6 separate regions of the Homo sapiens genome follow, and all the other regions are linked to region 6. The links are contacts of gene promoters, found by promoter capture Hi-C in blood cells and fetal thymus (Javierre and others, 2016). All regions are on one chromosome and are shown on one strand. Each heading gives the region's core, a stretch centred on a gene start or on the middle of the fragment in contact. The rest is flanking DNA. Distances are from core to core; before and after follow the strand shown. Region 1 has its middle 53 kb from the start of IL20RA. Region 2 overlaps IL20RA (interleukin 20 receptor subunit alpha). Region 3 has its middle 50 kb from the start of IL22RA2. Region 4 has its middle 37 kb from the start of IL20RA. Region 5 has its middle 13 kb from the start of IL20RA. Region 6 holds the start of OLIG3 (oligodendrocyte transcription factor 3).

Region 1 (4,604 bases), core at 47-2,546, 400 kb after region 6:
GAGAGTGGCAGTGAAAGAGCAGATGCTCCCGCCTTATAAATTAGCAGAAGATTATGCACGGCCAGCTGTACCATGGAACTGCCCAGGTTTTATACCACACCGTGATCCTCTGTGTTTATCATATGGTCCAGCATCTGGTCAATTCTGTCCCCAGCTCCCATATATCTATTCAAATCAAGCTTCGGCTGGGGATTTATTTATGTATATAGCTTCAATCTCAATCAGGATCCCTCCTGAGGTCTTAACTTGCAACACGGCAGGGAATTAACCCAGCAAGTCCTTTGTATCACAACTCTAAGTTACTCATTCACCTGAAGGTAACCTTTTTTTTTTTTCATGCAAGGTTTAGGAAGTGAGGGGGTGGCCAAATGAGGAAGATATGTATGTGTGACGAGAGAGTCAGAGAGAGAGAGAGAGAAGCCTCCAAGTGTTTATACATCAACAAAACCAGACATGGATACTCTGAAATAAGGTAAAAGTAACGTACTGTATGCCTTGAATAAGAAAAAAGGGAAAGAGATTTTCCTGTGTTTAAAAAATCTTGGGCTAAACCTGAAGTTATATAAAAGTTTCCTAAGCATTTTTCTCCTTTGTAACAAGATAGTATTTCCAAGAAGAAAATCCACTAATTGATTTCTTGGCATTGAGTGTTTGCCTGGGGTGTCTTTTTCCATTTATTTTAACAGGTAGATATATGGGCCTGTCATTGTGGTTAGGCCAAAAGAAAGTTCTCATTCTCCTCTCACACCATGCATCAAAACAAATTCTAGATTAACCAAAGAATTAGACTGAAAAAACTCAAACCAAAAATAAACTTAGAAGAAAGCACTTTGCAGGCCGGGTGCGGTGGCTCACGCCTGTAATCCCAGCACTTTGGGAGGCCGAGGCGGGCGGATCACAAGGTCAGGAGATTGAGACCATCCTGGCTAACACGGTGAAACCCTGTCTCTACTAAAAATACAAAAATTAGCCAGAGAGCCAGGTGTGGTGGTGGGCATCTATAGTCCCAGCTACTCAGGAGGCTGAGGCAGGAGAATGGCGTGAACCAGGGAGGCGGAGTGCAGTGAGCCGAGACCATGCCACTGCACTCCAGCCTGGGCGACAGAGCAAGACTCCATCTCAAAAAAAATAAAAAAAGAAGAAAGCACTTTACTATTTTTCTGATCTCTGGAAGGTAAATAGCTTTTAGAATATAGAAACAATGGAAGAAGTCATAATGAAAAAAGACTAATAGACTTTATAACCCCATAAAGCTGTAAATTTTATGAGTCTTAAAATTTAGCATAAACCAAATTAAAAGACAAAAAGAGAGGTGTAAAGTTTTTTGCAACAGTTAATGAATAAAAAGTTAATATTCTTAGCATATGAAGAACTCTTATAGATCAATAAGAAAAACATGAAAACAATAAATAAATAGGAAAAAGACATAAGCAGTTTTATAAAGGGAAATACAAATTTTGGTAATTTTTTATTGTTCAATTAATTAGTAATTTTAAAACTTAAAGCAAAATACTATTCACACCTATCAACAGAAAAGGGATTAAATTATAATACTCATTTTGCAACACAAACAAAAAGTAGAAAAAATCTTAAGGCTCTTCAACTATTGGGAAATGGGAAGGTACATAGCTATGTCCTTTAAGCTGTTAGGTTCTCATTAAAAATCATTCTTGGCGGCTGGGTGCGGTGGCTCACACCTGTAATCCCAGCACTTTGGGAGGCCGAGGTGGGTGGATCACCTGAGGTCAGGAATTCGAGACCAGCCTGGCCAACATGGTGAAACCCTATCTCTACTAAAAATACAAAAAATTAGCTGGGCATGGTGGCACGCGCCTGTAGTCCCAGTTACTCGGGAGGCTGAGGCAGGAGAATCGCTTGAACCAGGGAGGCAGAGGTTGCAGTGAGCCAAGATTGCGCCACTGCACTCCACCCTGGGTGACAGAGCGAGACTGTGTCTCAAAAACAAAAAAACAAAAAAAAAAAAACATCATTCTTGGCCAGGTGCAGTGGCTCAGGCCTGTAATCCTAGCACTTTGGGAAGCCAAGGCAGGAGGATAGCTTGAAGCCAGGAGTCCCAGACCACCCTAGGGGACATAGCAATACCCCTACAAAAAAATTTTTTTAACTAGCTAGGCATGATGGCACACACCTGTAGTCCTAGCTACTCAGTAGGCTGAGACAGGAGGATCACCTGAGCCTAGAAGTTGGAGGCTGCATTGAGCTATGATCGTGCCACTGCACTCCAGCCTGGGCAACAGAGTGAGATCCCGTCTCAAAAAAAAAAGTCCCTTTTATGAGAGTTTCAAATAACAGAGGAAGGAGGAATAAATTCACATTTCTGTGGCCTAATTCATGAAGTGCCTTTTCCATATAGATTTGATCTGTTTGAAATGACAAGTCTATATCAAGCTTTCTAGTCAGTGTCTGGCAAATGGAAATTTTTTCAAGAATCTTAGCTATTATTGTAATTCTTATATAGTCTTTGAAACAACTCTGTAAAGTTGCCGTTGTTTTTCCCATTTCATCAGAGTGAGCCAAAGTTCAGAAAGTTCAAGCCCAAGGACATCTACCTGAGCTGCTGTGGTGAAGCCACGCAGTCCATGTTCTTCCCAGCCACATTTTGCTGCCAAAGGCTAAATAATTCAGCAAGATTCATCACAAAATTCAACAATATGCCCCATGAAAAATCTGTCTTCGACTGTTTGGAGGGTGGGCATTTTGTCCTTTAGGACAGATATTGAAAGAGGCTTCTGGATATCACTCTGATATGAAGCGGCTATTTTAGGATTTCAGGATGATTTCTTATAAGAAAGAGCTGGTATACTAACAGTAATTAATCTTTTACTTGCCAGAGGGAAAGAAATACTTTACAATGTCTTCATTATTTTTTCCTATTTCAGAGTTTTCCAATGTCTGAAGGCAAATATGCCTATCAATTGCAAATCACAAATTCTCAACCTGGACTCTGAGGCATGGTATTGAGTAGAATGCTATAAATATGACCCAGCTGTTAACTTTGCATGTTACAAACAGAGATGTTTCATAATGGCTCATCAAGTGACTTATAAACATCAATGATGCAAGACAGAATAACTTGTTTTTTTCTACTATACCATGATGTTAAATACATCTTCTGTATTAGATTTTGTTACCTACATTCTCCCTTTGTTTATTTTTGAAAAATAAAATCCTTTTTATGGTACTCCAGACATACATTTGCATATCAGAGAGTTGGTAAAAAGAAAAAAAGAGAGAGTTATTTGGTATAAAAAGGAGTCATTAAAGACTTTAACATCAATTTGGAAAATTCAAGAATTAAGGCAGAAGACTATCATGCAAAAAGCAGTAAGTTCAAAGTAAGAGTTTAAAAAAGCAAGGGAGATTGTGGGAAATGAGCTGCCACCTTTTTTTCCCAGATTTTTATCTCATTTTAACTTTCTTTTAGGTACAATGGATGCAGACATGTCTGTAAACATTACTAATTTGAAATTACTCCTCTTGAATTTGAAGCGTATTATTTGATGGAATACTGTAAATGTGCTCACAGATGTTTCCTCACATGCTTCAAAACATAGGTGTCCCAACATGGTCAGCCAAGTGGCTTTTAAATATTGATGATGCAAGAAAAATTACCATGTTTTTATATAATTGGGCACCATTGAGGTTTTGCAAGGCTTCAGATTTTACTGGTAATAAAAGCTATAAATTGAGTCTTCCCTTACTACCAATCTCTTCATCTCAGACCTGCCCCAAAACCCTACTTGTCTGACATAATAAACAGTTGAACCCCAGCATAATTAACCAATTTTATAAGATGGTTTTATGATCAACCTAGAATATAGATGATACAAATGTCTTCCCATGTTACAGGGTGGCAAGCCGATTTTCATCAGACATTTATGAGGAGATCATTTTCTCTGACCACTTCATTCCCAAGGCCAGGGCTGATGGGAGGTAGGGTAGGTGGTGAGGGAGACAGTGAGGAAATGGAAGTTCTATCACCAAGAAAATTTCCTGGTGAGTGTGATATCAGGCAGTGAGAGAGTTTGAGAAGCAAAGAGCAGTGGTTTGCTTTTATTTTTTGGTTTTTGTTTTGTGGTGGTGGTGTGGGGTTTGTTTTTAGTGACAGGCTTTAAATCACAAAGAAACATTTCAAAAGTAAATGACATTTAACTTGAATAACTGGACAAATGATTCTTCTAACATCATCTGAAGAGAAGCTATTTACCTTCTGATGCATTGGTGAGGGGCCATATGGTGTTGTTATGCCATTTATGCATAGGAATTCCTGTTTTCATACTGAAGTATGTACACACACACATATATACAGTGTTAGTTCTACTGCTCTCTCATCAGTGGATTTCAGAGATATTTCCATTTAGTCTCATTGAAGGTCTGGTGTGGGAGGATATGAGAGAGGAAGTCACTGGGCCCATGGGAAACTGAGTTTGGGTGCAACCTCTGAAGCCAGAAGAAGGGGAAGCCACCAGTAACCTAGTTATCTCATCCAGGCAACCAGTGATGATTTACATGCACAGCTGTCCTCAGACAGCCCTGCTGCATGGCTGACAATTACAGGATGGTTGAAACCCTGCTCTCTGTGT
Region 2 (4,238 bases), core at 1,137-3,636, 450 kb after region 6:
TGGGTCTTTGGGCTAAGGTCTAAGGACTGCTGGGAAGACCACCTTAGAAGATGTATGTAGTTACCTGGATACTACCTGCTCGTAATTGAAGGATTATCTACAATGTCTTCTGTACAACGTGGGCTTACTAAGGTTCTATGACTTTGCCACTCTCAGGTAGATTAATGCTTTAATGCTCTCATTTTTTAAACTTCTAAAAATTTTCGTCTCACAGCTCAGTGCCATATCAGGCTGTAAAATACCAAAACATCCAAAGAGGAAAAAAAAAACTCAGCATGTCATGAACCTTGTAGGGAAATCTTGGTATTTCATTTCAGATAAAGTTGTAATGGAATTCAAAATGTCTATGCGGCTCCCTCAAGGCAGGTGCAACACGCTGTCATTCACTCTTGGACCCCTCCAGGGACAGAATTTCACAGTGAAGTTTATCCTTATGGCTTATCAAACTCCGCCCTATTGGCCATTCCCATATCCTGTTCTCAGGAACGATAAAGAACCATGATTAGCATAATATAAACAGGCATTTAAAGTCACTAAGATAGAATGGGAGATGGTGACTTCTCAGGTCATCTGCCTCCTCTGCTCAAAGCCCTTCAGAGGCTTCTACTGTTCCTGGAATCATTCTCAGTTCTACAAGATCCTGTGTGGCCAACTCCTGCCTGTCTCTCCAGCCTTATCTCACACCACCTAATTCCTGCTATCCTGGCCTTTTTCTACTTCCCAGACAAGCCAAAGTGTTTCCCATCTCACTCATACTGGCAGTTCCTCTGGAAGTTCCTACTGGAGATTCATACTGGCAGCCCCTCTGCTAGAATGCTGCTGTGCCACTCTATTCCCAGCTAACTCCTGCTCAGACTTTGGCCTCTCCTGCCAATGTGCTTCCCTCAAGAAGGTCTTCCCTAGGGAGTTCAACAATGAAAACACATGGACACAGGGAGGGGAACATCACACACCAGAGCCTGTCGGGGGGTGGGGGCTAGGGGAGGGATAGCGTTAGGAGAAATACCTAATGTAGATGACAGATTGATGAGTGCAACAAACCACCATGGCACATGTATACCTATGTAAGAAACCTGCATGTTCTGCACATGTATTCCAGAACTTACAGTATATATATATATATATTTAAAAAAAAATAACAGGGTCTTCCCTAAATCCCCAAAGAGGAAAAAAGTATAGCTTATGATGTCTATTAACAAATAAACTTGAGTTTTGGAGCTTTAGATTGCAGTCTAAATACCAAACAACAACTATGCTTATTAGAATGACTTAATGGAGTGAGAGTATTAGTCAAAATGTCTCTTCTTTGATACAAACATGGCAGCATTCCGTATTTTATTTCACTGAGAAGTTATTCCAGGACATACTTCACTCACACACACACATACACAGGGACATAAATGATTCTAGTGAACTAATTAAACTTGCAGAATTATTTTCTTTTTTTAACTTTTAATTTTGAACTAATTTGGGACTTGCAGAGAAGTTTCAGAAATAGCACAAAGAATTCCCATATCCCTCTCACCTGGTTTCTCCCAATTAAAACATCTTATGTAACCATTGTACAATGTTCAGACCAGGAAATTAACACTGGTATAGTGCTACTCACTAAACTATAGACCTTGCTGGAGTATCACCCATTTTTCCAATAATGCCCTTTTTCTGTTTCGGGATCCAGTCCAGGATCTCCCATTACATTTAGTGGTCATGTCCCCTTAGTCTTCTCCAACTGGTGACAGATCCTCAGCCTTTCTTTGCTTTCATGACCTTGATACTTTTGAAGAGTCCCAGTTACCTCTTCCTTAGAATATCCCTCAGTTTGGGTTCATGTAAAGTTTCCTCAAGCTTAGAATGAGGTTATTCAATTTTGGCAGAAATGCCACATAAATTGTCACTTCAAAGGATTTGTAATATCAACATGTCTTCTTATTGGTGATGTTAACCTTGATCGCTTGGTTAAGGTGGTCTCTTCAGAGTTTCTTACTATAAAGTTACGATTTTTCACTGTGTGACTAATAAATATTTTGCAGAGAGATACTTTGAGATTATGCAAAAATCCTGCTTATCCCCAAACTCACACCCAACTATTTTTAGTATCTATCGGTGGATTTTGACTGCAAAAACTACTATACCTAGTAGTGATTTTTTATTTCACTCTTTTTTTCCACATTTATTCATTGGAATTCTATTACAAGGAAGGGTCATCATTTTTGCCTTTTTAGGTATTTATTCAATTGGTTAAGTATATCAGTATGGACTCATGGATGTGTCTTCTTCTTTCATTTATAATCCAATACTATCATTATCAGTTTTATTGCTCATGCTGTTCCAGCTTTGGCCACTAAGAGTTCCTTCAGTTTGGCTCCTGTGTCCCTCTAAGGAACCCCATCTTTTTTGAGCACTTCATTAACTTTCTAGTGCCAACAACATTCCAGACTCATCTAGTGTTTTCCCTGCCCCAGGCCTGGAATTAATGACTTCCTCAGGAAGCTCTGGTTCCTTCTATTGGAGAAAGGTGTTTAGAAACCAAAATCTGGGTGTGAGGCATGCTTATTGCTACTGGAATGTTGTTTCTAGGTGCTCTCGGTGGACGGAGCTGGGAAATATGTGTGTATAGACTAACGTAGTTATACACACACATCTATATTTCTGTATGTATCTGTGGGTGTGTATATATATTTAAGACCGTGAGTTTGTAATGGTGCCACTAATTTCAACCTAACAATCAAGTTTCATTCTAGCCTTCCTCTTTCATTTACAGCCTCTTTGTCTAACAGTGAGAAACCCAGATGTCATTATCTACAATAGACTTATTTGCCTGATTCTAATATAAATATTTTCAGGATTGCTAACTCATGCTCTTATGAGAAAAACGTGTACTTACTAAATTATAGCCTTTATGTACAGTTTTCTGGTCTTAAGCTTTATAATATCCCATGAAGATACTATTGACCAAAGTTACCTGGCTTAGTCCTTTTTTTTCTTTACTCCTTTTGGTGTGGTTATTCTATCCATTTGGGATAAGTTCAGTTCATTTGTTAAACTGCTTGTATTACAATTTGGGTTCCCCCTCATGCTAGTTGTTTTGTTTGTGACATTTGGGGCATTTGGCAGCTAGGTGAAATATTACTGTGCTTATAAAAGTCAGAGCTATACAAAACGGTTTTCTCAGACAAGTGTGGCTCCCTTCTGAGCCCTACTACCTCCTTTCTATTCCTCACCATACCACCACCTCTTTCCCATTACACTATAAATGTGATTACGATGTTGTACTTACACTGTCATTGTGATATTCTGACATCATTTCTACTTTGTTCTTGGTCCACATTCCATGCCATCTCCTTCATTTCTTGTTTATTTTTCCTGAATTTCTTTTGCACCGATGAGCAAATATGTGTATGTTTTAAGATCCAGGTCTAAATCTGATTTCTGTACTGCAGCTAATGGAGGATTTGCTCGCTCAAGTGTTCTTTTTATCAAAAAAGCATGTCTTCTTTTCCAGCCTCTCTCCTATTGCCCTTCAAGCAGACTTGGGGTGATTTCTTATCTATAGATTTGCAGGCCTCCTGATCTATCAGCTTGAGGCCCAGCCCCAGCCTCCCCAGAGAGTATCATGTACCCAACATCCAAGCTTATGGCTACAGGTATCTCCAGCCTCACTCCTCACAATGTGCACTCCTCCTGCCTAGAACTACTCAGCTTCCTATAGAATGAATTCAGGAAAGGCAGTATTTGCGACCTGGAGAGCAGCCAAGGAGATTGGTTACCCATGGAAAGCGGCATGGAATAGGAACGACATAGTAGGGCTGAGGAGGAAGCACCACCTCCCTGATTATACCTTTTCGTTTAGCTCTGACTCTTAGAACCATAAGGTAGGACATATATATTTCACTTACTCATAAACTGTGGGTAAAGACAATAGGCAAGTGGGATTATTGCTTTAAAATTAAGATTTTAGTATAAACATTTCAACATAAAACTTTTGCTGTTTTTATAATTTTTTAATGAAACTGTATATCTCTATGTTGCCTTTTTTAGTGCTTGGCATAGTATTTTTCACAAAATGATTGTTCTGTAAAGTTGTATGGCTTTCTTAAAAGCAACTTTCATTATATGCGTTACATTTTAAAAATGACTTTCTATTTGCACCATTTTCTTCAAAGTACAATTTTACCAGGTGTCATTGACATGCTGACTTCCATATTGATTTAAAAAAAATGATCATCTGAGGCTTCAGG
Region 3 (4,922 bases), core at 1,981-4,480, 370 kb after region 6:
CAAAAGTCCAGATTTCTGTTGGATATACCCAGGAATAGGTCATTGGGTTTAAATACGTTTAAATTTAGTGGCTACTCACAAACATTTTTCCAAAATGATTGATTTATATTCCAACCAGCAATATAAAATAATTTTAGTTGTTCTATGTTCTTGTAAATATTTGGTATTGTTAACATTTTAATTTTAGCCATTCTGGTGGGTACTAAGTCATGGTTCATTATGGTGTGTTTGCGTGTGTGTGTGCATGTGACTTTGAGCATGTATTAAAGTAACTCCTGAATGAGGAATCAGAAAACAGATAAAGCTTGTTCAAAGGACTAAAGGAAAGACAGAAATACTTATAGTCATTAAAAGAAAGAATGTTAATTTAGATACAAACTTGCTTAGTGTCCTACAGGTAATGAAACTATAACCTTTAGGGTTATCTTTTTTATTGAAAATCATTTACATGTCTACGGAAAAAAATCAGTTGCATTGTTCTAGAGAATAATTTACATGCCATTCAGTATACTAAAAATTAACATCTATCTGGATGTACAAACTGAGTGATTCTATCTCTACAAAAGTCATACGTTGGAATCCTAATACCCATTGTGATGGTATAAGGAGGTGGGGACTTTCAGAGGTGAATAAATCATTAGGGTGGAGCCCTCATGAATAAGATTGGTGCCCTTTTAAGAAGAGACATGAAAACGGTTATCTTCCTCTCAGCCATGTAAGACTACAATGAGAAGACAGCCATCTGTGAACCTGGAAGTGGGTTGTCACCAAACACTGGATCTGCTGGCACCTTGATCTTGGACTTTCCAGCCTTCAGAATTGTGAAAAACAAATATTTATTGTTTAAGCCACCCAGTTTACGTTTTTGTGCTATGGCAGCCCAGACTGACTAACAAGATTTCTTAATAAATAGCAACTACCGAGTCAAAGATGAACCTATTTGACAATGAAAGGACATGCAGTCATCCTTTTCTCTTTATAAGTTATGGACATTTTTCATTAATCATTCTTTCATTGCTATTATCAAGGATCTCATTGTGGTTTAGCCTCGTAGACTTACGTAGATGTAGCAAGAAGCATTATTTAACATTTAGAAACCAACCTGTGGTGTATAACTAGGAAATTCAGAGCTGTACCTACTTAAGACCAGATTAACTTCTGTCTAAAGTCTTTGTAGGAACTGTCTTTTTAACAGTCTCCATTACTCCAAGATGTTTTTAGTTACTCTTGTATTATGATGTTAGAAAACCAAACCCAAGAAATTCATCTCTGTTAGATTACCTGCAGTACCTATAAATGTGGGTAAATTCCTTTGTTTTCAAGGTCTCAAAAGTCTTCTGAAACCATGGGCCTGCAAGAAAGCGACCTTACTTCCTGTAAGGCTGGGTCTCTATAAACCATGAAATAGACACCAGAACAGCTTCCTAGGAGGCTTTTTAGCATTGGTTTCATATGTGAAGTACAACTCTTGCTTTTTAATGGTTGACTAGTCATACATATTTAAATAAATTTATTGGCACTCTAAAAAAATAATTTGGAACTTGTCAATTAATTTGTAAAATTAATTGTCTGTTAAAAAGGTTTTATTGAATCTATGTAGGTAACTACATTGCCACTGAAAGAAAAGGGATTCGGTAAAAATAATTGTTGCTGATTACTGAAGGATCAATGACCATAAGATACTCTTTTTAAAATGTCCTAATAAAATAAGATTGGAAATAAAAGAGTTAAGAATAGATTAAGTAGCAGTATCCATCATATACCTATCAAAAATATAACATAGATGTGGAACACTTGCAGGGAACTAAAAAAAAAGAAAAGATATGATATCAAAACTAATGCTAACATTATTCCAATAAAAAATCACAGTTTTGTATTCTCATCATTTCATCATTTTTCTTTTTTTCTTTTTTTTTCTTGAGACAGAGTCTTGCTCTATCACCCAGGCTAGAGTGCAGTGGCGCAATCTCAGCTTATTGCAAACTACGCCTCCCGGGTTCAAGTGATTCTCCTGCCTCAGCCTCCTGAGTAGTTTGGATTACAGGCGCCCGCCACCACACCTGGTTAATTTTTGTATTTTTAGTAGAGACGGGGTTTCATCATCTTGGCCAGGCTGGTCTCGAACTCCTGACCTCGTGATCCACCTGCCTTGGCCTCCCAAAGTGCTGGGATTACAGGCATGAGCCACCATGCCCGGCCCATCATTTGTCTTAATTAAGTCTTGCCTCACTGGATATTGGGGAGAAGTCTAGTTTCAAGAGTTCATGTCTTTTCTGGACAGTCTGACAGTAGTCTAAGTAATGCCCACTCAGAAGCCATGTCTGCGTGAGTCCAGTCTTGGAAGTAACAATAAGTGTAGAAGTTTCTGGTAGAGTCCTTTCCACTAAATTTCTGAAACTATCCTTTTTTGATAAAGATCCATTTCTAGAGTTGTAGCTTATAGCAGAGGCTTCAGGCAAGTATAAGAGAAGGGCTGAGACCACTGGTTTATAAGAAGACAGACTGGCTGCAGTTAGTATAATAACTAACAAAATCAGAATGAAGGAAAGTAAAATTTTCTACTAGGGTATAATACATAATTGCCTTCTGAGGATTTGATCAATATTTCCCCTGAAGATAAGAATAGTCTATAAACAGTTAGAATTGTTAACAAATATCCAGGGCTTTCCAATCCATCCTGCCAAGTTGTAACAAGCTCTGAAACACACTTATCAGTAGGACTTTACCAGCACAGAACTAACCTAGGAACAGCTGAGCCTCATTTATTTAACCTTTTCCATGAAGCTGTCATGATAGCGTTGAACGAGTTAAGAAAAATAGACCACCCCAAAACTAATTATTTTTAGCCCCCCTCTTTTTATAAAGTTTAATTTAAAAAATCAATTTTTAATCTGGGAAGAACCTCAGAGGAACCACATAGTTTGTTTAGTGCAAAACGTTTTTAAGAAAAAAATTTTATGAATCTAAGATCTGATCTTGGGAAGGCAAAACTGAAACAACACAAGTGGATGGTTTCTAGTTCAGAGCATTACACAGGTGCTAGTGATCAGCGTATAGCCATAGTAGGTGGTTTGGCCCCTTATTAATAAGAGGCTCATGTAGCATTTAAAAATAAACCCAACAGAAGGTAACACCATCGTAGGAAAACTTAGCTTACTCAGAAGTAACTTTTATTCTTTGCTTGCTTGCTTACTTGTTTGTTTAATAATCAAGAACAGGCCAGGTACAAATGACTCATGCCTGTAATCTAGACACTTTGGGAGGCGAAGGCAGGAGGATTGCTTGAGGCCAGGGGTTCACAGTTACAGTGAGCTATGATCATGTCACTGCACTCCAGCCTTGGTGACAGAGCGAGAACCTGTCTTTAAAAAACAAACAAACAAAAAACAAACCAAAGTCAGCATAAAGCATAGAAAGTTATTTTGATGAGATATGTAATCTCTGCCATTTGAAATAACACAAAGGTAAAGGATAATTTACTACCTCTTAATAAGCACAGACTGAGGACTGCAAGTCCAACTTATCACATTTTAACAGAGGAAAAAATTTATAGTCTTGCATTAACACGGTATTCATGTGTTTTCTTTTTTAAAAAAATCTTACAAACAAACCTGTCAAAATTGAGCCAACTTTGCCAAAACTTTTAGCACATTGTGTTGCTTCTTTTCAGATTCATTTACCTTTAGGTATTAATCCAAGGCAAATAAAATTCTCTTTCTGCAAGCCTTCTATAAACCTTAAATATCATATCAGGTTTTTTCTTTACTACTTCTTTAACAAGATGCTCTCCTATAAGAAAGTCTACTCTTTCTCTTCCTTGCTAAATAATAACTCATCCCATTATTACCTAGATTCTACATTCATACTTCTCTGCCTCCACTTTACTTAGGATAGTCTCAACCACATAGAGTAATCATAACTTTTAAACAAAGTAATTAATTTCTCTTTCATGGAAAACTCTGGAAGACAGGACATTGAGAACTGTCTTTCGTACACTAGCATTTTAGCAGACCAGCAAAGCTCACAATGTGTGTGTGTGTGTGTGTGTGTGTATAGTATCTGCCAAAGAAGAATAGATCTTTGTCATTCCAACAGAGATGACAAAAAAAGTCAGTGCATAGAACCAGATCTCCATCCACTGCTGCCACAAAAGGAGAGTAACAGATTAGCTGTGCACAAGCCAGACTCACATGTACACAGGGTGGCGATCTCAGTAGAGACAGGCTGGGTATGTATTAATACTAGTCCCTGAACTTCAGTGAAAAAATAAATATGGACCAAACTTAAATTAGACAAGGCATAATTGGATGAATAGATGTAGCTCAGAACAGAAACAGAAACAAAAACAAAAACAGACTTGAAGAAGGGAAAAGAACAGAGAAACAGAGCCAGCAGGGTAAGTGTTTATTGCTGCTTGAGATTGTCTCCAAGAGCACAAGAAATACCTGGCATCAATCAGTGCAAAATTCAATAAGCCTAATTAATTTCAGAAGGGGAGTTTCCTGGGACATCTATGTGGAATCTCCAAAAATTGTCAAAGTACAATATTCAGTTAAAACAGATCTCCCAGCCTCATGAATATAACACATGTTAAAGATTTATTGAACTCATTATTAATGAAGGAATCAGCAGAAAGTTAAAGCTGGTTTAGTTCCTGCTTATGGTTTCAAATTGCTTTTCTCTAATCAACATCCTTTTAATACCGTCCTTTTTCTGTTTAAATTACCCAGATTTGGTTTCTGCTGCTTACACCTAAGAGACCAGCCTACTACATAAATTAGTACCATCACTGGTTCCAAATAACAGGCCTTGAGAGACAGAGAAAATTTGTGTGTATATTTTAGCCTTGTTAGAGCTGAGGGCAGTGAAAACATAGGTAAGAGATGGGACACTAGAAGCTAATGCTTGCCTTTAATCAAATT
Region 4 (4,645 bases), core at 1,455-3,954, 410 kb after region 6:
CCTATCTTAAACAAAGAAAAGAAAAGGAAATGTATTTGACCATAAATAATTTTATTTTTTCTTTTTTTCATCTAACACTAGTTAACATTCCACAGAATTAATGTTCACAGGCATACTTTGGAAGATCTTCTATAAGTAAACAAAGAGGAAGTGAAGCCAGCTGGAAAAAAATTTCATAGCTATACCTAGTTTGAAAGACTTAGTATGAAAAAAATGCAAAATATCTTATTAATAGTTTTTTATTTTGCTAACATATTGAAATGATAATGTTTTTGATATATTGGATTAAATAAAATATTAAAATTTTTTTAAAAGGTTATAGCCACATTTCAAAGCCAAACCTTAGAGTACCAGAATCACCCACACAATGCTAGGGCCTGGGATTTGCACCAACTCATTCTCTGCTTTCCCATGCCTTATCCCAGCACCAGAATGCCTGAATCCCTCTTCATTTCCTCCCTGTGGCCTGCCCTAGTTACCTGCTAAGATCAGCATTGTTTTTTAAGATAAAACTCTTATGAAGTTCTTTGAGCTTAGATGGAAATTAGACTTCTGTCTTTAGTTGAAAGCTAGCAGTATTTGAAAAATACATGCACCTAAACAAGACAATATTAGGAGTGTGTCTAAGAAAAATAGAATAAAAACATAAATACTAATTTTTAAAATGTCAGCTTCGGGGGACGGAGGTGCATAGTGGTTTTTAGACTAAGTAAAGGAATTGGAACTATAACTATTTGCCCATAAAATTACATTCGCTCAAAACACCCACAGGCAATTGTTGAGAATGGCCAAGAAGTGGAGAGGAAAGTAGAAAAGAAAGCCATGAGAGATGGCCTGTTGAATTCTGTAATGTTTCTTTCTGACAACAAAATAACAAGAAAAATAATCTCATGTAAGAAAATGCTAATAAATTATTCTTCCTCATTTCCCCTCCATTGTTTTCACAGCATCCAGGAATTTTCAAACATAGCACTCACAACAAGTGTAATCCCAAGGTTCTCAGTGAAATTATGTTTAATGTCTGTCTCACCCACTAGAGTGTGATGCTTATAAGGGCAAGTGCTGTGACTGCTTGTTTGCTTCTGTGTCCTGCAGACTAGCACAGTGCCAGCACTTAACAGCTGTCAATACAATATCTGTGGAGAAGGAAGGAAAGAAGGGAGGGATGCTGCATGAGATGATCAATATATTCTCATAGAACAACAAGAGGAAAAAGTATATAACTAAGTATTTTCCTATTCTCATCATTTTGAAGCAAGAAAAGTCACAAATTAACACATTTTTCATTATTATGCTGAGCAGGGTGTAAAAAATAGTGCTGTTTCAACAGAACAGAAAAGGACTCAGGTATTCTCATATTTCTTTTCTGAGCCTAGATTTGCGCAGGGCCATTACATGTGATTGTAATTCCTGTAGGTAAGCAGATGGTCAGGCAGCGCACCAAGAATTATAATAATCTATGTGGGATGTTTCTAAGACATGAGTTAATGCTTTCAAACCCATAAAGCTTGGGATTTTATGGAGATGAACCACATTATAGACCCACATGCAAGCATGTACTCATCAAAATGATCTCAACTGAATCAACAGCTCAGCTCATTTGCACCTCCCGACCTTCTGGAACTGACCTGAAAGATGCATCCTCAAACCTATTTCTTCTTACTAAGGATTGCAATTAGACATAGAAAAATATATATAACTAGCAGTGCTGACATGTATTTGAGGGTTCCAATCCCTTGATCCAGAACAAATATGGGCAACACGGTAAACTGTGCTGCTATAAGCAAAAATTCTTAAATTACAATCCACTGCCTCTCTAAGATTTCAAGGAACACACCAGAGGTGATTTTGAAAGCAATGGGAGGGGGCATAAATGGAAAGATTCCCAAGAGTAAACTGATTTCCACTGATTATCCACAATTAATTGAGAGTCAGTTTTGGTGCAGTGGAAAGAAGGCAAGACTCGGAATCCAAAGAGCTAGATGTGAATTAGGACTCAGACACTATTACCAATCAATGGCATCAAGTGGTTATTGAGCCTCTCTCAGCCTCAGCATTCTCATCCATAAAATGGGGATAAACAATACCTGCGTCGCAGCATGGCTGTGAAATAACCTGTGTGAAATGCCTGGAAGACAGGCCACTGCCAGTGGACAGATTTTACTTTTCTTTCTTCTTATATCTTTCTATTTTAGTAATAATACTTTCATTTTTTACAACATCTTACTGTTTTCAAACCTCTTCTCCATAGTTTTTCTTAACCCATCTCACTGCAGCATATGATACGAACATCAATTCTGTTTCACATGTGAGAAAACCAAGGCTCATTCTAAAACCCAGGCTATTTTACTTCTAGTACTGTGCTAATGCCACTAGACTGAATATTTAATACCCAAAACCATAAGAGGAAATAGATCAAAATAGTGAGCAGATTCTAAGATAAAAATATAATAATCCAAGTTTTTAAAAGATGATAATAGGTCATATGGACAAAATGATATGGCAATCCAGGTGACATCATTTCATTTTTACTACCTGGTTGGGGCTACAAAAGACTAGAAATAAATATCTCATTAAGAATTATAGAGTGCATGATATAGGATTTAGCAGGCTTATGGAGAGCTGTGAAATGATTCATTTAAAAATTTATTTTTATTGCAATTATTGTTTGCAGAAATCTACTAATAATATACACATATATAAATATATGACCTTTATTTACAGCTCTTGCCATTGCAAAATTACAGTTAAATAGGAAGTATGTATCAATTTTAGTAACTTAATAAAATAATGAAGCAATTCATATGGTTAATTGCTATTGGGGAAATATCTTTTTGGTTCTTGTCTATTTTCATTTCATTCCTGCAATGAGTGTACATGCCATCACCAGATGTCTTCATTTAAAAATGAAGTTTAGAACAATTTTATGAAACAAAATCTCAGAAATAAAAAGATGGAACAGAGGTAAAATAGTTTTAACAAATTTTGGAGGACAAAAAGAATAAACATTAGTATTTGGAAACAGGGCATATGTGAAGTCCCCAGCATACTGCCTGCTGGATAGTAGGCTTTCTAGTCCAATTTTCCTTTTCTGCCAGGTGAAGATATTCAGAAGAATAAAAGGTAGAAATGATGAGTCAATGAAGATTGAATCTGAGAGCAGAGACAGAAGCAAAGAAGGGTCAAGATAATGAGAAAGCCAGGTGGGAGGGGTTCCCTGGAAAAACTCCAGCTGCCTGGGCCCTGGGAGGAATGCACAGTGGGATGGAGCCACAGAGGTTCCTGCTGTTTGCAGCAGGGAGGATCCCGGCCCCTCCTCTTCCTGTGTGGAACCTGGGGTGCAAACAGTGGGCTGGGAAGCACCCCAGCAGGAACTCTGGCCTTGCGGAAAGTCCCTGTTTCCCCTTTTTTTTTCCTTTTTGCCCAATAAATTCCATAATTCTCACCCTTCAATCATCTGCGAGCCTAAATTTTCCTGGCCGTGTGATAAGGACCCCTGTCTTTAGCTGAGCTAAGGAAAAAGCCCTGCAATAGTAACAGGTTCATGTTTTATAGAACTAAAAGAACCCATCAATAATTTCTTGAATACCCACTGTGTGAAGTCTGGCAGGATTTCTGTAGTGGGGTTCAGCTGTACCACCAAGATCCCAACCTCAGACTGAAGTATTGGTTTCCCAGCAGCCAGAGGTGTTGGCTGCACACAGCTATGTCTCTCTTATGGAACTGCCCTTGGCTGAAGAAAGCTGCTTTACTCAAAGTATGCTGCCCTCTTCGGAAGCATCCAGCACCCAGGGACTAATGGCTGCAGGTTCCAAGGCCCAGTAGCCCCTTGCTATAAATGGAACAACTCTGAATGGCCATCCCAGCTCCAGGGCCCCTTCTGGGCTTGGCCAAAGCTTCTGTTGAAACTACATCACAGTTGTGCCTCTCTAGGAATATCGCTTCCCTTGCACCTTCCCAGTGTTGATCCTTGGAGCACTCACCAATAAACTGCTGCCCATACATCTCCATATCAGAGCTGTTTTCAGGGGACCCAACCGAAGACAATTGGTTACACAGCACAAAAATTCTAGAAGATAACATCAAAAAAACCCTTCTAGACCTTGGCTTAGGCAAGGATTTCAGGAACCCAAAAGCAAATGTAACAAAAACAAAGATCAATAGATGAGACTTAAACTAAAAAGCTGCTGCACAGCAAAAGAAATAATCAGCAGAGTAAACAGACAACCCACAGAGTGGGAGAAAATCTTCCCAATCTATACATCCGACAAAGGACTAATATCCAGAATCTACAAGGAACTCAAACAAATCTGCAAGAAAAAAATAAACAATCCCATCAAAAAGTGGACTAAGGACATGAATAGACAATTCTCAAAAGAAGATACACAAATGGCCAACAAACATGAAAAAATGCTCAACATCACTAACGACCAGGGAAATACAAATCAAAACCACAATGCGATACCACCCTCACTCCTGCAAGAATGGCCATAATCAAAAAATCAAAAAATAATAGATGTTGGCATGGATGTGGTGAAAAGGGAAGACTTTTACACTGCTAGGGAGAATGTAAACTAGCACAAACACTCTGGAAAGTAGCGTGGAGATCCATAAGGAACTAAAAGTAGATCTACCATTTGATCCA
Region 5 (4,485 bases), core at 554-3,053, 440 kb after region 6:
ATTTAACACCAGCAATGTAAGAATGTTCTAGATGTTCCAATGTCTCACCAGCACTTGGTATTGTTTAACCATCAAAACGGGAGTGTATTAGTATCTCCTTGTGGTTTTAACTTACATTTCCCTGATGACCAGTGATGTAGAGAGGCCTGTTTTCTATTTTGATATCTTCTTTTGTAAAGTATCTGTTCAAAGTTTTGCCCATTTTTATAGTGGATTGGTGTATCTTTTTCTTGCTGATTTGTAAGAGGTATATTATCTGCTTTCTTTTGACATACATATGTATTGCAAGTATCTTCTGACCTCTACTCTTTCACTCTCTTAATGGTGTGTTTTGGTAATCAACAGTTGTTAATTCTAATGAAATCTAATTTACTAATCTGTAGCTTTATAATAAATTTTGATATCTTGATGTAAGTTGCCCAATCTTATTTTTTCTTTTTTTTTTTTCTTTTTTTTTTTTTGAGACAGGGTCTTGCTGTGTCACCCAGGCTGGAGTGCAGTGGCACGATCTTGGTTCACTGCAACCTCTGACTCCTGGGCTCAGGTGATTCTCCCACCTCAGCCTCCTGAGTAGCTGAGATTACAGGCACACGCCACCATGCCCGGGTAATTTTTATGTTTTTAGTAGAGACAGGTTTTTGCCGTGTTGCCCAGGCTGGTCCAAACTTACTTTTCTTCTTCAAGATTATCTTGGTTCTTCTAGGCCCTATTTTAAAATTAAAAGCCCCCAAATAACCCGTGTGCTAACCTAGCATTTTCAAAACTCTTCAGGCCTTAATTCCTTAAATTACCCAGAAAAGAGAACTATGCTACATCTGAGGTGAAACCAGACTACCTCTGGATTTGAACTAAAGCAAACTGTTAATATTGTGCTTTGTTTTTCCATACCACAAAAGAGGAATCTTTAGTTTCTTTTCACATACTCTAGCTAATTAGCATCCCTGGCAGGTACAACCACCAGCTGAATTATTATCAACAGTTGTTGCATTGAGAATTTTTTCAGTGATCGTGAATGCCAAGGTCATTCAACACTTGCAAGGATTTTCATCTTCTTTATGACCATCATTTTTTATGGTACTGACTGAAGTAACTTCTGCAACTATTTATAAACCCTCCTAGAAGCCATTGTTTCTGTTGTCAGCAGTAATGTTTCCATAGTAGTTCTCAACCTGAAAATAGAAAAGAAATGATGAAACAACATTACAAATCCTTGAGTTAAAAAAACTTCTTTGAGATTAAGTGAAAATTACCTAATATCCAGAGTATATGTATATATAAAGCGTAGTGTTCTGCATAATATATGTTATATATGATGCATATATATTCTTCCAGTTTGCAGTTTGTCTCTTCTCTCTTTTAGTGTCTTTTCATGGCAGAAATTCTTTATGTTAATGTAATCAGACTGTCAATCTTCTGATTTATGGCTAGACTTTTTATGTCTAAGAAACACTCTCTGACCCCAGGGTCATATAGATGTTCTACTATCTGGTCTTTGAAAATCTTCCTTCGCATTTAGCTCTTATATTGGCTTGTTAGGGCCGTAATAACAAAGTACCACAAACTGAGTGGCTTAAATAACAGAAAGTGTCTGACGTTTTGAGGGGCTACAAGTCTGAAATCAAGGTTTTGGCAGAATTGGTTCCTTCTGAGGCCTATGAGAAAAAATCTGTTCCGTGTCTCTCTCTCTCTCCTGGCTTCTGGTGGTTTATCAGGAGTCTCTGGTGTTCCTTAGCTTACAGACACATCGCCCCATCTCTGCTTTTATGTTCATGTGACATTGTCCCTATGCATGTGTCTGTATCCAGATTTCCCCTGATTATAAGGACACAGTCATTTGGATGAAGGGCCCACCCTACTCCAGTATGACCTCATCCTAACTTCACTGATTACATCTGCAATAACCTTATTTCTGAATAAGGTCATATTCTGAGGTACTGGGGGTTACGACTTCAACATTTGAATTTGGGGGGACATCATTCAACCCACAACAGCTCTTTAATTTACTTAAATTATTTTGAAGGTGATGTAAAATAAAGTACATACCCAGTTTTCCCAGAACCACTCACTGAAAATCCTGTCCTTTCCCCACTAATCTGAAATGTCCCTTTCACTTATCAAATGTCCCTAAATTTGGGACTCTATATACTGTTTCATAGATCTTTTTGTCTACCACAATGTCTGAAGGTAATTTTATAAGTCTTGTTATGTGTAAGGGAAACTCTCCCTCTCTAAACTTTTTCAAAAACGCCTTGATTATTTTTAGACCTTTGCAATTCCACTCAAATTTTATAATCACTTTGTCAAGTTTCATAAAAATCTGTTACAATGTTGTTGGAATCGTATTACATCTGTAACCTAATTTTGAGAGATATTGAGTCCTCAGTCCATAACCACAATCCATATCCCTCCATTTAAAAAGGCCTTCTTCAAAGTCACTCAATGAAAGTTCATACATTTTCCTATAAAGATCTTGTATGTCTTAGATATTTTTCACGTTATTACAAAATAGTACTTTTATTTCATTTTAACTATGTATTATTGGCGTGCAATTGCTTTGAGGACATTGAATGCATGAATAGAATCCTATAAACTCTCACATTCATATTTGTAAATTACCCAGAGATACTTTTCCACTGTCTGTGCATATAATCATATTATCTATGAAAGATAACAATTTTATCATCATTTCTAATTCTTATGACTTTCTTTCTTTTTCTTCCCTGCCATAATGGCTGGGACATCCAGCATAATATTGAATTCAGAAGGAATGACAGGAGACACACTTGGTTTATTCCTGACCTTAAGGAGATACTTTCAGTATGTCATCATTAAGTATATGCTCATGAAGCATTAAGATCTTCATTATTAGATGAAGGAAGTTGACTTCTATTCAGAAGTTGCCAGATTTTTTTTTTGTTTTGTCCTATTTAAATAGACATCTGATTTTTCTCCTTTATTTGTATTTGTAGTGAATTACAACTACTGATTTTTCTAATGTTAAAACAACTTTACATTTGTTGAATAAACGCTGTTTTGTTATGATGGATTCGCATCCATTTTCTCAGTGTAATTTTTTGGCAATGCTTTATGGAGCTGTAATTCACATATCATGCAATGTATTCATGTGAAGTGTGTAACTCAGTGGTTTTTAGCATGTTTGCAAAATTGAGCTACCATCATCACAATCAATTTGGGAATATTTTCATTACCCCAGAAAAAAAACTCTACTGTTTAGCCGTCACCCCCAAACCACTCTCAACCACCACCTGCCCCAGCGCCTGAAAGCAACTAATCTATTGTCTGTCTCTATAAAATTGCCTATTATGGACATTCCATATAAATAGAATTTATTTCATATAAATAGAATGTGTGGCCTTTTGTGACTGGCCTCTTTCACTTAGCATATGTTTTCAGGGCTAATCCATCCATGTATCCATACTCCATTCTTTTTGACAAATAATGTTTTATTGCATGGATACGCCTCATTTTATTTATCCATTCATCAGTTGATGGACATTTGGGTTGTTTCCAATTTGGGGCTATTATAAATAACATTGCTATGAATATTTGTGTACAAGTGTTTGTGTGGACATGTATTTTCTTTTCTCTTTGTTAGATACCTAGGATTGGAAGTGCTGGGTCATATCATAGCTCTTTGTTTAACCATTTTAGTAACTGACACACTGTTTTCCAAAGTGGCTGACTCATTTTATAGGCTCACCAGCAGTGTATGAAGGCTTTGATTTCTCTACATCCTTGACAATATTGTTGTCTTTGTTATTATAATATGGCACTTTTACCCTCATGGGTATGAAGTGTGGGTTTCACTGTGGTTTTAAACTGCATTTTCCTGATGAGTAATGATGTCAAGCTTCTTCTCCTGTGCTTATTAGCCATTTGTAGATCTTCTTTGGAGAAATGTCTTGTCAAGCCCTGTGCCCATTTTTTACTTGAGTTATTTGTCATTTCATTATCAAGCTATAAGAGTTATTTATATATTTTAGAATCAAGTCTCATTAGACATACGATTTCCAAATATTTTCTGTCATTCATTTGGTGTCTTTTCACTGTTTTGGTGGTGTTCTTTGAAGTGCAATAATTTTTAATTTTGATAAGTACGATTTACCTATGTTTTAAATTTTGATAAGTACAATTTACCTAGTTCTCTTTAATTGCTTGTGATTTTTCTGTCATATTTAAGAAACCATTTTCCTACTCAAGGTCATGAAGTTTATCTTATATTTTCTTCTAGGGGTTTTATAACTTCAGCTCTTACACTAGGTCTTTGATCTATTTTGAGTTAATTTTTGCATATAGTTTATGAGACAAAGTTCAAAGAATTTTACTCTTTGGCCATGGATATACAGTGTTCTGCATCATTTGTTGAAAAGACTACCCTTTTTCCATTGAATTGTGTTGGTGCCCTTGTCAAAAGTCAATTGACCATAAATTATTATTCTTTTGAAACTCTCATTATATGTCATT
Region 6 (4,638 bases), core at 1,108-3,607:
CCAGACAATTCTACTTCCCCAAATCAAAACTCAGGTGCAGCGTTTTCAGTCTGGGTGTGGGAAGGACAGACGCCGCCGACGACCTAGGGTCAGGGAGGTGGCTCAGGAGGACGGCGGGGGCCAGACCTGTGCACCGTCCGCAGGGCGGGGAAGCTGCTCTTCGTCCAGTCCAGTGCTCGCTCCCAATGCCCTCCCCCGTCCGCCTCTCTCTCCTCACCCCATTTGATCAGCAGGGGAGTCGCAGAGGGTTGTCGTTAGGACTAGCCACTAGCTTCCTCCCATCACCTGGGACTGCACAAGTTCTGGAGCACTTCCCCCCTCCCCTCCTTTTTTAAATAACCAGGAAGACTTAGTGTATGTCACTATCTTATTGGCGAGTCTGGTGAATTAAGAAACATTCTTTATGCTTGGTATTAGGAATGCTTTTGGACATTAGTCTTTCCACATCCAATCTAACCTCTTGAATTAAGAAACTTTCCTTCCACCGAGATGAAGGTGGTAGAAGAGGCTCCTGTCCAATCTGCAAGAGCACTAACTTCCTGGCCTTGACGAAGGGCTGTTGGCCATTTTTCCCCCATTACAGAAAAACAAAATTCGGTGTAGCAAAAGCATCCATGCCAATGTTGCGTTTGCCCATCCTTCTGGTATTGGCCAGAGCTGCCTTCGCAGCGTGACTGTCAGTGGGGCACAGCCTCAGAGCGTGCAAACTCCGGACCTGGGCGCGCATCCCTCTCCCACTGACCGCTCGGTTTGAGTCAAGGGAAAGGGGGGCATCCTGTTCTTCGAAGTGACTCAGCGGCGCAAGAGGCCCCAAGTGCCCGAGGTTCCGCGATTGATTCGATTTCACACTTCCACCGAGACTCTCAGTCACTAGCTAGCGTTTGTTTCCCGTTCCACCAAGCCGGGAGAGGGGCGGTGTCCGGGTTCTTCTAGAGACCACTCCTGGGGCTCTCTCCCTTCCCGGGATTTCTGCCTTCCCGCCCCTCGTGCTGCTGAGCTAAAGTCTTGATCACAAAAACACAGCAAGGGGGAAGAAAGATCTACGCCCACCTCCGCACTCGCACCGAAGGCTCCAAACTCCGACCTCCTCTTTATTCCCAGAAACGACTCTGCGCTGAACCGCAGTGCCCGGGCACGCACAAGGGGCTTTCTAGGTCCTTTCGTTGTTTCCCTTCCCCCGTGCTTCTTTGCCCACGCACCCCACCCCCCCGCCCCACCACCCCGACATCAGATAGTTTATTATGAGCTTCTGATTTCCCTGTCCGACGCCGTACGGCGGCCCCAGCCTGGTGGACCCACCCGCGCAGGCCGGGGTGCCGCTGAGTTCCCGGAGCTCGGGGCACGTCAGCACAGCGGCCAGAGGAGGCCCGGCGGAGCTTCGGGCGCGGACCGTCCCACCGTTTTGCGCCAGCGCCAAGGTCCAGGAAGCCTGGAGTGGGAACAATCTCTCTGGAGCTCTCAGGAACCTAACAATCTCTCTCTCTGCCTCCTTGGCTCCTTTTCCTTCCCATCCTCCCAAGTTGCTTTTCTTGTGACATTAACATTTTTTTTTCGCAGTTTTTGGTCTAGGAAGTTAAAGAATTGTGCAAAACTGAAATTCTTTTAGAAATCCATGTTTTAAAACGAAAGAGAGGACACAGAAAATAAGAGACCTCTCCGCCACAATACTGCCAGGAGCAAAGCCATCACCGAACATGGACATCCCGTTGAAACCACACCAGAAGGGCCCAATAAACAAAATTGACAGAATGGAAGTGTTTAGGAAAAGAGATCTAATGAAAAAAAAATATTGAGACAGAGAAAGTCGGCATGCAGTCTTCCCACCACCCCCAGCCCCCGCTGGCAGCACCTTCCCTCCGACCGCACCTCTGTCCCTCAAACCTTTCCACTGAGACCTATTTTTGCCCATATTTCTCTAAACTTGGGAGCAGCCAGGAAAGAAAGGAGAGCGAATGTTTCAATTCCTCTCTCCAAACTCAGAGGAACCTCCACCAACCGCCTGGCCACCTTCTCTTGCCTTCCTTCCGTTCCTGATGTGTGATTTGGTTAGAGAAATTGGGAAGGGGGGTGGGGTGGAAGAAAGTTAAAAAAAAAATCAGGAAGGCGTAAGCTGGAGCGGTGAGTGTGTCAATCAGAGGGTTTTGTGCCTGGGGGCTCCTAGCGGTTCGGAGCAGAGGTGTCCCAGGGCGGCCCCACAATGAATATGAATAGGAATCCTTGCTAAATGGGACAGCAAAGCGCACCGCCCTGAATGATGGCACGTCATCCTAACCAGCCCAGGATAGATAGGAGGGCTCCTTTTGTCTCTTTTCTCCGCCGCAGCTCTATAAAAGCCCCTCTTTTTCAGCGTGAGGTTAGTTCAAGCACACACCAACTAGCTGTCCAGGAAGCAGCCTAACCAGAGAGAGGGGCGTGGGAGGGAGAGAGGCGGGGAAAAGCAGCGTCTCCGCTTTTCTTCTCACGTCTTGCCGCGGAGAAGTGGGTTCCTGGGCAGTGCAGATTTTTTTTTTTTAATTCAAGATTTTCTTTAATTTCCCGCCTAAAGCCTCCCCACGGTAGGGCCGCATCCCCTGTAATAAAATGAATTCTGATTCGAGCTCTGTCTCCAGCAGAGCTTCATCTCCGGACATGGATGAGATGTACCTGAGGGACCACCACCACCGCCACCACCACCACCAGGAGAGCCGTCTCAACTCGGTCTCGTCCACGCAGGGCGATATGATGCAGAAGATGCCCGGGGAAAGCCTCTCGCGGGCTGGCGCCAAGGCCGCGGGAGAGAGCAGCAAGTACAAAATCAAGAAGCAGCTGTCGGAGCAGGACCTACAGCAGTTGAGGCTGAAGATCAACGGACGCGAACGCAAGCGGATGCACGACCTGAACCTAGCCATGGACGGGCTGCGCGAAGTCATGCCCTACGCGCATGGGCCGTCGGTGCGCAAGCTCTCCAAGATCGCCACACTCCTGCTCGCCAGAAACTACATCCTCATGCTCACCAGCTCCCTGGAGGAGATGAAGAGGCTGGTTGGCGAGATCTATGGGGGCCACCACTCGGCCTTTCACTGCGGGACCGTGGGCCACTCGGCCGGCCACCCCGCGCACGCGGCCAACTCCGTGCACCCGGTGCACCCCATCTTGGGCGGCGCGCTCTCATCTGGCAACGCCTCGTCACCGCTGTCCGCCGCCTCACTTCCCGCCATCGGCACCATCCGGCCTCCCCACTCGCTACTCAAGGCGCCCTCCACGCCGCCCGCGCTGCAGCTGGGCAGCGGCTTCCAGCACTGGGCTGGTCTGCCCTGCCCCTGCACCATCTGCCAGATGCCGCCGCCGCCGCACCTGTCCGCTCTCTCCACAGCCAACATGGCCCGGCTGTCGGCCGAGTCCAAGGACTTGCTCAAGTGAGCAGCGGGCGGGCCCGGCTGCCAAGGAGGAGGGAGAGCGGCGGGAGGGGCCGCGGTGCCGGGCCGGGAGGGAAGAGGGAGGCTGCACGCTCGGCCCACGGGAGGGCAGGCTCCGGGGCCCGCAGCCTCCCACGCTGTCTGAGAGATCTCAGACTCCACTTGACCCCCGGAGGGAAAGGACCAAAATCAAACCGCAATTTCTAGGTGGTAGCAAAGGGGGACTCGAACCAGATGTCGTGTGTTTTGCATGCATGCTTCTTTTCCCCATGCCGCGCCAGTATTTTTCACTGCCATATGCTCTTGTCAAAACTGCATTTGTTGTATAAAGATGGGATCGGTGTAGTTAAAAACTTGCGAAGGGACTTTTGAGTTGGCTTTCTCTGACTCTGTGTTCTCGCTTTGGAAAAAGACGGCCATCCCTTTTGTGCAAAACAAATGTAAATATTTTCTTGAGATGGATGCGATTATGATTGTCTCTGTCCTTGCCACAGTTTTTCTAGAGACAATGGAGAGAGAAAGAGAGAGAGAGCGCGAGAGAGATCAAGACCCAAGTTTTGAATCTCAACCGAGGTCCAGGGCATGACACCTCCTATGTGGGTTTTCCTTTCGACGCAGTGTAGGTCAAAAGAATGCATGCACGCTTCTAAATGAATCTTGTCTGAATATGTCGTGCAGGCTGTGGTGCCGTTTTCCTTGTAACAAGGATTTATTAGTGAATTATCCCAAGTACTCCATATATCTGTCTGTGGTTGTATGAAATGAAAAAAGGGGCAGAGTGCAAAGACCCACACTCACGCACACGCGCTTCTTCTCCCACCCCCACCCCCTTCAAACTTTATTCGGAACCTTCCTTTGCTGTTCTGGGGCCGCTATTGTAAAAGCCTGGGCTCCCTCTAGTAGCTTGCGCCACCCCCCCTCGCTCAGTTATTCTGCATGCGGGGTTGGCTCTCTCTATTATCAGCTTTGAAAACTTATCCTGGTTTTGGGAGGGGTGCCGTTTTTATTTTCCTGAACATTTGCTTGAAATATTTTGTTAGGGCCTCAAAGACGATACCTGTCTTTATTTTTTATATATTCTTGATAACTATGATATATTTATTAATAACCAGTGTTTCTGGATGAGATTTCAAATAAAAAAGAACCTTTAAATCGTGGCTTTGCCTTTGCCTAAAATCTTAGCAGATGGGGGTAGTGGGATAGGAAACACGTGGACCAGGTAAGGTGTATCTGGGTGAGGAAT

The links. Contacts are between HindIII fragments. The CHiCAGO score rates a contact against its expected background, and 5 or more counts as called.
Region 1: a fragment that was not itself captured here is called in contact with the fragment with the promoter of OLIG3 in region 6 in 3 of 17 cell types (naive B cells, total B cells and monocytes); the score reaches 9.3 in naive B cells.
Region 2: a contact is called between a fragment that was not itself captured here and the fragment with the promoter of OLIG3 in region 6, in 4 of 17 cell types (M2 macrophages, total B cells, M0 macrophages and 1 more). The highest score is 6.9, in M2 macrophages.
Region 3: a fragment that was not itself captured here is called in contact with the fragment with the promoter of OLIG3 in region 6 in 1 of 17 cell types (monocytes); the score reaches 5.7 in monocytes.
Region 4: a contact is called between a fragment that was not itself captured here and the fragment with the promoter of OLIG3 in region 6, in 2 of 17 cell types (naive B cells and total B cells). The highest score is 8.7, in naive B cells.
Region 5: a fragment that was not itself captured here is called in contact with the fragment with the promoter of OLIG3 in region 6 in 1 of 17 cell types (M2 macrophages); the score reaches 5.4 in M2 macrophages.

Annotation. Positions count from the first base shown.
Region 1 is chr6:137,095,668-137,100,271 of GRCh38, reverse strand. No RefSeq gene overlaps it. Among named protein-coding and RNA genes, the nearest start is that of IL20RA, 53 kb to the right of the region's middle. RefSeq lists enhancers at 2,238-2,407, 3,003-3,172, 4,086-4,225. The HindIII fragment of the contact is 2,230 bases long and covers 182-2,411 here.
Region 2 is chr6:137,038,703-137,042,940 of GRCh38, reverse strand. The region is part of intron 1 of IL20RA (interleukin 20 receptor subunit alpha); the gene reads left to right. Among named protein-coding and RNA genes, the nearest start is that of IL20RA, 4.1 kb to the left of the region's middle. The HindIII fragment of the contact is 1,077 bases long and covers 1,848-2,924 here.
Region 3 is chr6:137,121,046-137,125,967 of GRCh38, reverse strand. No RefSeq gene overlaps it. Among named protein-coding and RNA genes, the nearest start is that of IL22RA2, 50 kb to the left of the region's middle. RefSeq lists enhancers at 1,692-1,861, 4,247-4,416. The HindIII fragment of the contact is 5,847 bases long and covers 307-4,922 here.
Region 4 is chr6:137,079,604-137,084,248 of GRCh38, reverse strand. No RefSeq gene overlaps it. Among named protein-coding and RNA genes, the nearest start is that of IL20RA, 37 kb to the right of the region's middle. The HindIII fragment of the contact is 2,389 bases long and covers 1,510-3,898 here.
Region 5 is chr6:137,055,586-137,060,070 of GRCh38, reverse strand. No RefSeq gene overlaps it. Among named protein-coding and RNA genes, the nearest start is that of IL20RA, 13 kb to the right of the region's middle. The HindIII fragment of the contact is 4,141 bases long and covers 1-3,873 here.
Region 6 is chr6:137,492,113-137,496,750 of GRCh38, reverse strand. It overlaps OLIG3 (oligodendrocyte transcription factor 3), which reads left to right and starts at 2,357. Exons shown (of 1, transcript NM_175747.2): 1 at 2,357-4,552. The coding sequence starts at 2,581. The coding sequence ends at 3,399. RefSeq lists enhancers at 200-732, 733-1,266, 2,948-3,447. The HindIII fragment of the contact is 6,431 bases long and covers 1-4,638 here.